2 separate regions of the Homo sapiens genome follow, and region 1 is linked to region 2. The links are contacts of gene promoters, found by promoter capture Hi-C in human tissues and cell types (Jung and others, 2019). All regions are on one chromosome and are shown on one strand. Each heading gives the region's core, a stretch centred on a gene start or on the middle of the fragment in contact. The rest is flanking DNA. Distances are from core to core; before and after follow the strand shown.

Region 1 (5,808 bases), core at 2,475-4,974, 370 kb after region 2:
ACTGCCCTCCAGCCTGGGTGACAGTGCAAGACTCTGTCTCAAAAAAAAAAAATATATATATATATATATATGCATGGAGCTGGCCACTTAAGAGCCTTTCTGTAGTGGAATGAAGCCAGCAGGTAGAAAGAAACTCAGATAAAATACAGAGCCCAAAGGTGTTTGTTTGAGCCTGTACCAATTTGGATTCTTTGAGATGAAAGTAGCAGATATTGAACTCAAACCATGAATAAAATGAAAATAAAATTCTAAGAAAATTAAATGCCTCACACAACCTGAGATAAGCTGGGCTCCAGGGCTGTCTAATACAGCCACTGAAGGACGTCACCAAAGACCTGGGTTTTTTCCCATCACTCTGCCCTTATATTTGGACATTATGATTGGTTTAGTCTAATCAGTGGGGTAGAACATTAACGGACATGTGAGAGTTAGACAGGCAAAGACAGTGAGTATAACCAACACAGCCCCAAGCTGTGTTACAGAATCATTCACAAAGATCTCCATAGAATCCAGAGACTGTCCTGGAAAATCTGTCGTTCACCTCTTCACTTGATCCTATGACTCCTCTAGTATCTTTCCTTTTATTCTCTCTGTCTCTCCACTTGCTTTGGGTTGCTGTTCATTGTCATCAGAGTCCCAATATCATAGTATACCTTGGAGTATCTCATTTTTTGCCACCAGTTTCCATTCACCCTTTAGTTAACCACAACCCTATTCTCCTTCCCAATCTTCAGCCCATGGCTTCAGCTGGGGTCCTATCCTTGGTTCAAAGATGGAGCATGTAACCTAGACCTAAGCTCATCAGCACATCATCTTCTCTCCCCAACCACTGCAATGTTTGGTTGAGAAATGAGCATATGGCCTGGTTACAGCTAGTGATGCATTATTAAGCTTTTGCCAATAATCCCAGGAAAGAAACTGGGAAAGCTATTCTGCCAGACCAATCAGAGCCAGTCAAAAATTCTCTATTTCCCATTAGATACGAGCCAGAGAGGTAGCGCAGTAGCTGCTAGGAATCACCTTGCAACCACAAGGGTAAATCCTGTCTGAGAACGGCAGCAACCCAGAAAGAGAAGACCTAGGTCCTGAGCCCCTAGCCCCTGTTGTGCCTTTTGATGCCTCTTTCTTTGCTTAAGTCATATGGAGGCAGAATTTTCAGCATGTACAAAGACAGGAGTTACAACTGAGAAGTCCTTTTCCCCATCTCTCTTGTGGCAATTAGATAGCATGCTTTTTGAAAGCAGAGACTAGATCTTGTCTGCAGTTGCATTTCTCCACAGTCGTATTGGTGCTCAGCACATAGTAGGTACTGAAGCAGAATTTCTTGGATGAGCTTGAGGCAGGCTCATCAGGCCCCAGAGCTGGGGTAGCTAGGAGAACCTTTGTCCCTTCCCTGGGCAGTTACCGATGCAAGGCCAGGACCCTTCCTCTGTGTCATCATCAGAGATGCATATAGTTTTTCGTAATGAAGGAAGTTCAGTGTGGGTTATCAATGAGTGTTACACTTGAAGATTCCAGTTGGACCTATAGAGACCAGGTTCACCCATCTAAATTCCCACACTCACCGAAAATAGGCCTTGAAATGCAGCAGTTCTCACAAGAGCTATTTATTTTGCAGCTGAGCAGAAGGCCTTTCTTATATGTTTTGCATAGGAGCTCAATATTAAACCCAAAGTCAAGGACCCCACGACTGCCATGCACCTTGTTTGCCAGACTCTGTCAGGATTCCCACATTCCAATAGATCTTCATTTCTGGCAGAGCCTGGGGCTTAGAGCAGAGAGAGAATTCCTGGAACAACTTGAGTTCCCTCCAAGACCAATGGACAATATCACATCCCTCCCCTTTGGGCTCTGGCCTAAGACTCCTGTAGCCCAATTTTAGGAGGCTAGGGGCCCTCTTGATTCCCAACATGTCTCTGACCCATCAGAAATGCTTGACATAGGGAAATTTACTTTCTAAGAACAAACTAGCCTGGAAGGGAGTGCTGGGGCTGTTCTTTCAGGGGAGAGATGTTTAACTGATTGTTTTTTGAGAGAGAGGTTCATGCTTTGTCCTTGGACAGCATTGCAGCATTGCAGAGCCCTGAGTTGCTTTAATTTTGACTCCGCTACCAAGAGGTGAGTCAGCTTAATGATATCAATGTAAGAACAGAGATGACGAAAGAAGAAGTGATTAACCTACAGCAGTCTTGCTGGTTAATATTAGAGCTGACCAATTCCTGAGGCCCTCTGTCTCCCAGTTCTGCAGATGCCGCTGTTAATAGGAGATCATCAGAATCTAGCTAAAAAGTATGCTAATCACATCACCCTAAGTTACTCTGGAGACATTTAGACCCTTCATAACCTAGACCCTTCCTCTCTCCAGCCCCATCTCTCATCATGATTCATCTCTCAAATAATATTCCAGTGATAACCTTTTTGGAGCTGATCATTTAAAGCAAGCTACATCCCTCCTCTATGCCTTTGTTTACACTGTTCCTTTGCCCAGATTGTCTTTCAACCTGTATCCTATTCCTATCTCTATTTATCCAAAACCCTCTCATCTTTCAAAGCCCAGCTCATATATCATCTTCTCTATCAATATCTCTATCTTTCTTCAACTGATCCCCTTCCCTATACCACCATAATCTTTCAGTTCTGAATGCTAATGGTAGCTTGAGGCTATATTGGTTATACTCACTGCCTTTGTCCATCGTAACTCCTGTACAACTTTAATATTCAGTTCAGTTTTCACCTCCTCCAAGAAACCTACCCTGTTGCTCCCAGGCTTAGCTGAGAACCCCATCAAGCTTCATGCCTTGTGTGTGTCTGTGTGTGTGTGTATCTTCCTCACTAAGCCGTAAGGACCTCCATGGCAGGGACAGAGTCACAATTATGCATATCTCTCCAGAACTTAACATAATGGGGATAACTCTTGGGAGCTTAATTGAGCCAAAAATCCTTGCCACTTGGGACATCTCCTCAGAGATGACATTTGCAGGGAGCAGTTACCTGTGGCCAACAAGGAGATGTTTACCCAGTACCCATTACCCAGTGCACTGCATTATTCTGGAGATTAAAGAAAGCAAGCCTGAGGCCGAGCATGGTGGCTCACGCTTGTAATCCCAGCATTTTGGGAGGCCGAGGCGGGTGGATCACCTGAGGTCAGGAGTTCGAGACCAGCCTGACCAATATGGTGAAACCCCGTCTCTACTAAAAATACAAAAATTAGCCAGGTATGGTGGTGCGCGCCTGTAATCCCAGCTACTCAGGAGGCTGAGGCAGAAGAATTGCTTGAACCAGGGAGGCGGAGGTTACAGTGAGCCGAGATTGCGCCACTGCACTCCAGCCTAGGCGACAGAGCCATACTTTCTCTCAAAAAAAAAAAGAAAAGAAAAAGAAAAGAAAAGAAAGCGAGCCTGGGCAACATGGTGAAACCCCTTCTTTACTAAAAGTAAATAAAATTAGCCAGCCAAGTGTGGTGGTGTGCGCCTGCGGTCCCAGCTACTCCAGAGGCTGAGGTGGGAGGATCGCTTGAGCCTGGGAGGTGGAGGTTGCAGTAAGCTGAGATTGCACCAATGTACTCCAGCCTGGGCAACAGAGAGAGACCCTGTCTCAAAAAAAAATAAAAAATAAAAATAAAGAAAGCAGAACCAGTCAGCCTAACACAGCCAAAGACTGAGTTTACTGCTGTGGTTTCTCCCTGGTATCAAGGGAGATTGTCCCATCTGCTTTCAAAAATTCAAATAAAGTAACAGACACTGAACAAGGCACTCGATGTGGTGTAGAAGACACATAATTATAAATAAGGCATTGTTCTGTCCCCAAGGTCCCCTCGTGGCAGACACAAAAGAGTGCAGTACACAAGTCCCATGGATGAGCTTGAGGCATCAGCTTTGCTTTGAAGAGTTAAGAGAAGCCTCACAGAAGAAGCGATATTTGACCTGGGTCCTCGAGGATGAGGAGGAATCTACTAGGCAAAGATGGGAACTAGGGGAGGACAATCTAGGCTGAGGGACCAGTCCGTGCAAAGGCTCACAGGCTGGCATGGACATGGCACGTCTGGGGGATGGCACATGTCTAGCTCGTAGGTGCCAGAGTCTTCGTGGAAGGTGAAGGAAGAAACGGGGGCAGAAGTGGAGCTTGGGACCTGCTTGTGGGGAGCCTTGAGCATTGTGTTAAAGATGAGGCTCTTATTTGACAAGCACTGGGGAGGCTTGAATGCTTCTAAGCATAAGAATAAAAACTGGCAGCAGTGCTCAGGACAGACAAGAGGGGCAAGAAGGCGTATCAGAGAGTATTGCTATAGTTGGTGAGAATGATAAGGATTAGGACAGAGTGCTGTGCTAGAGGAGAGGACGGCGCATGGCTTGAGAGATGTTGTGGGGGTGGAACCGCAAGGAGCCAAGCCTGTTCGGCATCCCGAATCCTTCCAGCACTACCCACATGGCCCCTATTCCCCCGCTCCCCAGCACATCCTTCTTCCCTCCTTGGCTGTTAAACCCTAAGGCAAGGAGATTCCAAATGCTGACTACATCTTCCTTGGCCCATCTCAGCTTTTGGCAAATAAATTGGTGCCATTCCCCAGAAAGCTTTTCTTGAACTTCATAAAGTTAGCAAAGAGGAGAAGTGTTAACAGTATGATCTGTTGAGTACCAAATTCTAATCCCAGCCCTAACACTAACCTAGCTTTTTCACTCCCTGAAATCCTGCCAAAATCAAAAGAGAAGGTCTGTGCCAGACACAAGTAATTTCAGCTGAACAAGCACTCCGAGGGTCACAGAGTGCTGTTTTGCTCGAAAAATGTTCTGCTGCTTCGGAACTGGCTTTGGGCTGCTGGTGGTGGCTCATGTGGATGACACAGTCAGAGGAGCATGGAAAGTATTTTTCTTTGGTAAACAAATATTTCAGTGTTGATGCTGAATTAAATCAGAAGCTCCAAGAATACAGGTGTCATTCATTTATTAACAGAATAGAAGAAGAGAGAAGGCATGATTCTGGACTGGCTCCTTCTAATGAGAACCAAAACTGATTCATCCCCAGCAGCTAGAGAAAAACCAAGCTTTGGGGAAGACAGGCAACACACATTCTTCAATGTCTATTATGCATCTAATTCTTTTAAAACACTATTGTTGGCGGGGCGCGGTGGCTTACGCCTGTAATCCCAGTACTTGGGAAGCTGAGGCGGGCGGATCTCTTGAGGCCAGGAGTTTGAGACCAGCCTGGCTAACATGGTGAAGCCTCGTGTCTACTAAAAATACAAAAATTAGTCAGGCATGGTGGCTCCTATCTGTAATCCCAGCTACTCAGGAGGCTGAGGCAAGGGAATCACTTGAACCCAGGAGGCAGAGGCTGCAGTGAGCCAAGATCGCACCATTGCACTCCAGTCTGGGCAACAGAGTGAGACTCTGTCTCAAAAAACAAAAAAATTCATTAAATTCCCAAAATGTTTCTATAAAGCAGCTGGTATTATGCCCATTGCCCAGATGATGAAGTTGAGGTATAGAAAGATAGTCCCATGCCCAGTGGAATGTGTAAGCAAACTTTGCTGTAGTGAAGTTCAGACTGTATAACAACATTCTTATTTTGAGAAGCCAGAGGAAAAAAATGATGTTGATTCCTGTAAATTTGTATGGGACTGCAGTTTTCCAAGCACACTCACATGCATTATTTTCACATCATACTCAGAATGGCTGTGTGAGGAGAATAGTAATATTCCCATTGCAGAGATGGAAGAATTGAGAGTCAGGGAGAAGAAAGGATTTGGCAGCCAGAAACAAGATTTGAACATCGAACTGAGTCCAGACCCAGTGCCTTTTCCATGGAAGA
Region 2 (5,600 bases), core at 1,881-4,380:
AACTGACATGGATTGCAAAATCTTTGAGGAGAGGCACTAAGCTTCCTCCTCTGTACCCTACAGTAAGTCTCAGGGTGTCACCACAGAGCAGAGACATGCTCAGACTCACAGATAGTCCTGACCTCAAGACTCTTTCTGCTTTACCTTATGTTTGCACATACAGCAAATGCCCAATAAATCCTCACTTGTTTCACCGTAGCTTCAGCCTTTTCAAATAAAGAGCTCAGTTGCAGGGCCTCTGTCAGCCCATGCAAATTAGAGAAAAGGCATCCCTCCCTCCAGGCAGACATAACCCTAACAGGTTGTGTGGCTGGGCAAGTGGGGCATGAGTTGGATTTCAGCCCCTTAGCTGGGTGCCCTCTGCAGCAAGCCACATAAGCCACCTGGGCTCTGGCTCTTCGTGAGAGCAGCAACAAGGACTCCCTCCCCACAGTGCTCCATTCTGATGGGGAAGGCCTACCTTGGGAAAGCTGGCATCAGATACTTCCCAGCTTGCTTCCCAGCTCATTTCCCATCAAAAACAAACAACAAAAAATCCACACCTGCCATAGCTCCTCACTGTGGAACCCAAGTCTATGCTCCCAGAAGAGCATTTGGAGACTCCCACAATACTGTCCCAGCCTTCTTTTCTTGTGCTGGGAAGACCCAGAACTCACCATGAATTGTCCTACGTCTCTGCTTTTGCTTTCTCCCAGCCTAGATTGCCCTTGTCCTGTTGATCTTTAAGTGAGATCTCTATTCCCCTTTAAAATCCGATCGCAAACCCTACCTCCTCCATGATGCCTCCATTAGCACTAATTGTTCTTGGTGCTTCTTCCCGCCCCATCCCTCTTTGCCTTCCACATTGCTTCAGCCTCTACTACCACCCTTTTCCTCCATGTTATTAGCATGTAACTCAGTCCACACAGCCTTCTCTGAACTCCTTCTGCAGCAACTCAGATGCATCATTTGGCTCCATCCTGATCCTAAAGGAATCCATTTGCAAGCAAACCGATGAACAATATTGACTTTACAAATGATTTCTTTCATAGGACCGGGGGCTTTCATAGCCCACCCCACAGCAAACTACTTACCAATCTTTGCAAGCATCTCCCCTGTCCAAATCCCTGGACAACTTGGCAACCCTGTTGCCTGTTCTCAGGCAAGTTGCTTGGCAACCCTGTCCTCAGAGCTCCTCCCCTCTCGTTACCCTTCCCCAATGTGCTCTCAACGAAGCTAAGGCTCCACACTCAGTCTCTGCATGTCTTCTTCATTTGTTCCATTCAATTTATTTCCTTCCTGTCCTAATAGGCAGAGCAACTCAATGTTGTCCTAACACCTATTTGCAAACATGTACCCCAAGTCCATTATGATGCTCAGCCAAACACAGGGTCTCCTTCAGTTTAGCCTTCTTTAGAAGGAGTCAAGAATAGACAGCCAGAATGTTTTTCTTGTGACATGTATGTGCATTTTCCTCCATTGAGCATGCAGTCAAAAAAAGCAAGGATTGTGTCTTCCACATCCATGCAACCTAGCAGAGTGAAAATATATACCAGAAACCTGTGCTCAGGGCTCCTCTCTTCCAGGGATGAGGACAGTTCTAAGCCCTTTCTGTCTCTCAGTTCTTCTTTCCTCCCAAGTAAGGCCCAGGACTGGAGTTACGGGGAAGCACCTGAAGACAGAGTAGGAGTTTAATAAATAGCTGTAAAATGAATGAGTCAGTGACTGAAGAGGAAAAAAAGAAAGGACAAGGAAGAACTTTGAAGGCACCCTCACCAAGATTATTTCAGCCTAGCTGAAGGAAACTTTGAGAAGCCACCCAGGGTGATAGAATGGATAAGACCCAGAGGATAAGAGGAGTCGCAAACACGGGGTTCTGGTATCAGCTCTGTCTTCATCACTGTGTGGAATCTTAAGGAGATCTCTCAGCTCTGTTTCTCATCTGTCTCACCAGCCTGCCTGCAGATAGCCTAGTATGGACACCACCCAACAGGGTCCTCAGGGCTGTTTGACATTCGTGTTTGAGGCTTCTTCCCCAAATGCACAGACACCCAGAGCCCCTCGGCGCCTCCACACTCTGCGGAAAGCTTTTCTTGGCTGCAGTGCTGGCCCGGGGACCTTCACTGCCCACTGGCAGAAAAGAATTCTCGGCTGTGGAAATGAGTAAACTCCACATATTTTAAAGATGACAGTCTAAACTCCTAATGACTCTAAATGTGGTGTGAAATGGACAGCAGTCATCTTGCTGTGTGACATGCCTGAAATAGTGTCACCACCACCATCACCCCCTCACGTGGACATGCACGTCATGGAAAGAGAAGCAACAAGTCATAGTGCCTTGGCTAATGTAGCTCCCCTATTCCCCCCGACCCCTCACCCCAGCGTCTTTTCTGTGCTCTTCTACATTTTAAAAAAAGAAGAGATCTATTTATTCTGCAGGAATACAGTCCAAGGTCACCTAAAAGCAAAGGAGAATGGGAATTAAACACACCCAGAGACCCGACCCATCCAACAGAGTCCAGCTCAGGCAGGCTGTGCCAGTCTCCACCAGGCTACGAGGGGAAAACCTTTTCGAGTTGAACTGCCACCAATCCACTGCCACCGAAGTCAAGGTTGTCAGAAATGACCCTCTGGACAGGGCTAGTGATTTGGATCCTAGAGATACTGAGTTCCTGGGAAACAAAGAGAACTTGTTGATTTTGTATTTTTATTTTTTCTTCGATTTGGTCGGGATATTACGGTAGCCTTGACCAGAGTTGAGAAAAGGAAACGCCCAGTCGGTATTTATTTGTCAAACAGTTGTCCTTTGCCTCCGGGGTCAGGGGCCCTCTGGTACCCACCACTGTTGCATCCTCTCCACACTCCTAAGCCTGTAACTCCTCCTCCCAAACCGAAGCCCTGTCAGTAAAAAGCGTCCTAATGATGCCCGCGCCCTAGTTGCACCAAAGGGGGTCAGGTTCCCATCGAGCGGATCCACATTCGTGTGTGCGCACGCGTGTGCATGTGTGGAAGCGCGTGTCTGTGTGTGCCGTGTGTGTACGCGCGCGCGCCGGTGTGTGTGGCGGGGGCGGGCTCTGCGCCCGGGGGCAGGGCTCCGCAGTGAGAGTGGCAGCTGGACTTGCCAGGCTGCGAGGGGCAGGGCACAGAGCCGCAGTGCCGTAGTAGCGGGCCACGGAGATAGACAGCTTTGGAGCTGCTGAACTCCGAGCACAGGGTGAAGACCCCGGCGCTACCAACCACAGCCTGGCAGCCTGGTCTCCGCGGCACCCACTGGGGCTGCATCCCCCTCCCCCGAGAGGGCTGCGCAGGCGGGAAGACGCCCAGAGGCCAGCTTCGGTCCCCCTTCTGTCTCTCGGTTCCTCTTTCCTCCCAAGTAAGGGAATAAACCGCGAAGAAGGAGCGCCCCGGGCCACCGCGCAACCAAGTGTTGCCTGGTGAGGTAAGACGGCGGCCGGCGCGGCGGAGGGGGTCCCCGGCTCAGGGAGCACCCGGTGCAGCAACTTGGTAAAGGAGGGCAAAGCGGGAGCCGGTCCCGCGGCCAGGGAAGGGGCTGCAGCCAAAGCCACGGCGCCCACCCCGACAGTTCCACCTGCCACAAAGCCCTGCAGGAAGGGATGCCCCGCTCGAGGGGTGCAGGCTTGGGGAACGCACAGGGTGGGGCTCGGCTCTCTCTGCGACTGAGAGGCCCCCTCAAGCCTCAAAGCTGTGCGGGTGGGAGGCGGCCTTGCTCCAGGCAGTTTGCTAAAGCAACTGGTCGGATTTCCTTCTTCTTCTGGACTTAACCTTGGCTCCTTGATATCCAGTTCGCGCTCCAGGCAGTCCGAGAAGCAGGAGATGCTTTTCCTAATGTCTGGCCGCCAAAGCCTCCGACCGTCCCGCGGGGTTCTAGGACTTTGGGGGCACTCCACAAAGCCCCTGCGCAGGGCGACTTAAAGGGAAGCTGAAGCGAACACGGACACCTCAGAGAATAAAGGAGGGAAGGGTCGAATCTGAGGTTGATCTGTGTAGTCTCAGAGTCACAAGATGTGTCCGTGTGTGTGCTTGTGTCCTGAGGAGTGCGTACCCGGAGTCACCTGTGGTGCTTTCGCAGACTCCACCGGTCCACCTCCCCTTGCCTAGTCTGAGATTTTCTTCGTTTGAACTAGTGGAATAGAATTAGGGGAGGGGGCTGTGGAGTTCTAAAAAGCCCTACAGGTGATTTGACGTGCTGCCCCCATCCCCACCATCACTGCAGTGGAAAGCTTGGGACTAGAGCTAGAACCACCTCCCAGATGGGAGGGATGAGCTGCGGAACTCAGGGTGGCGGTCGAGACCCCTCCCCCAGTCGCCCCCCGCGGCGGGAGCGTCTGCTGCAGCGCGAAGCGATCTGTGGCTGCGCCGCAGTGGTGCCCGGGAGCGCTGTGAACCCGTGGGCGCGCTCTCCCGCGCTGCGCCGCTGCCTCCTCGGACTTCATTAGCATACGATGACCTCTCTGTGGGGAGGAGGGCCTGGGAGGGCTGTTTGTCATTCCTTTATTTTGGGGGCTTGGCGACGACACTTTGGATCTGGAGGTGAACACCAGGGGTCATGATGAGAGACAGTGGTCAGGACACAGGACTGGAAACGACCCCTCTGGTCTGGATGGGGGAATCAACTTTGTTATTTTGGTGCTTGGGATTCTCTGTCTGTAAAATACAGCTGGCAGAGCCACTTGCTGGCACACAGGGCACCCTGGTTGTCAATGAAGGAAATTAGATCATAGAGGGCAAATGTCGAGGTTTGGTCATGAACCCAGGCACAGACACACACCCCTTTATATTTTATGTCCCTCTCACTCTCATTCCAGGCATGTGTCTAACATGGGAAGGTACTTAACTGTTTGTCATATTAAAAGACTACATTTGCTGGAGATTCCATTCCGAATATGAATTATACTCCTTAAATAAAACGGCTGCAACTAAGCCAACTTCCCGGTCGTACTCCTGATCTATGTCTTTTTTGCCAATCACCCTTAACGTTTACACCCAGCACTATAGGCATTACTACAGGTATTTTTCTGGGAGGGGCTTTAGGGTGGGAAGCTAGTAGATGAGTCTTTCCTACCTTAGAATTTTATGGAGTGGTTGGTTCAGATCAACCGAGACATGGGGAGAAAACGACAAACATCAGCGTGTCTTGAAATCTAGACTCTCAGAGATGGGAGTAACTACTAAGATCATCTGTTCCAGCTCCCCCAACTGCTCCAACTCCCCACACAACACCATCAACAGATGGTGAGGATCCCTCCAACCCGGACACTCCCAGAGGCCCAGGCTGTGCATGTGTGAGCCTCTGCGAGGAAAGAACCCAGAAGCCAGCAACTCTCCCCTCTCCTACTGATGGGAGTTGGTGGATGCTGGCCCCATCTCCTCCCCTGGAAGAGAAGGGGGAAAAGGGCGGGGAAGTACCTTTTCTTTGTGGTAAAACTTTAAAACTTTTAAAATGTATATCTTATTGTATTACATCATTATAATGTACTCTTTTAGTATAAAAGTAATTCATGTTCATTGCCTAAAAATTGGGAAGTTGAAAAGTATGCAAAGAACAAATCAATCACCCATGATCCTACCACTCCCATCCCACACTGTTAATATACTGGCAT

What was found. The method cuts DNA at HindIII sites, captures the fragments that hold promoters and counts their contacts. A contact is called where the count stands out against the background at its distance.
Region 1: a fragment that was not itself captured here is called in contact with the fragment with the promoter of DGKG in region 2 in 1 of the 25 tissues and cell types used here (dorsolateral prefrontal cortex).

The regions. Positions count from the first base shown.
Region 1 is chr3:185,991,884-185,997,691 of GRCh38, reverse strand. No RefSeq gene overlaps it. Among named protein-coding and RNA genes, the nearest start is that of TRA2B, 57 kb to the right of the region's middle. The HindIII fragment of the contact is 3,768 bases long and covers 1,841-5,608 here.
Region 2 is chr3:186,359,764-186,365,363 of GRCh38, reverse strand. DGKG (diacylglycerol kinase gamma) reads left to right here and starts at 3,130. Exons shown (of 25, transcript NM_001346.3): 1 at 3,130-3,418. RefSeq lists a silencer at 2,971-3,060 and an enhancer at 3,845-4,362. The HindIII fragment of the contact is 4,334 bases long and covers 1,055-5,388 here.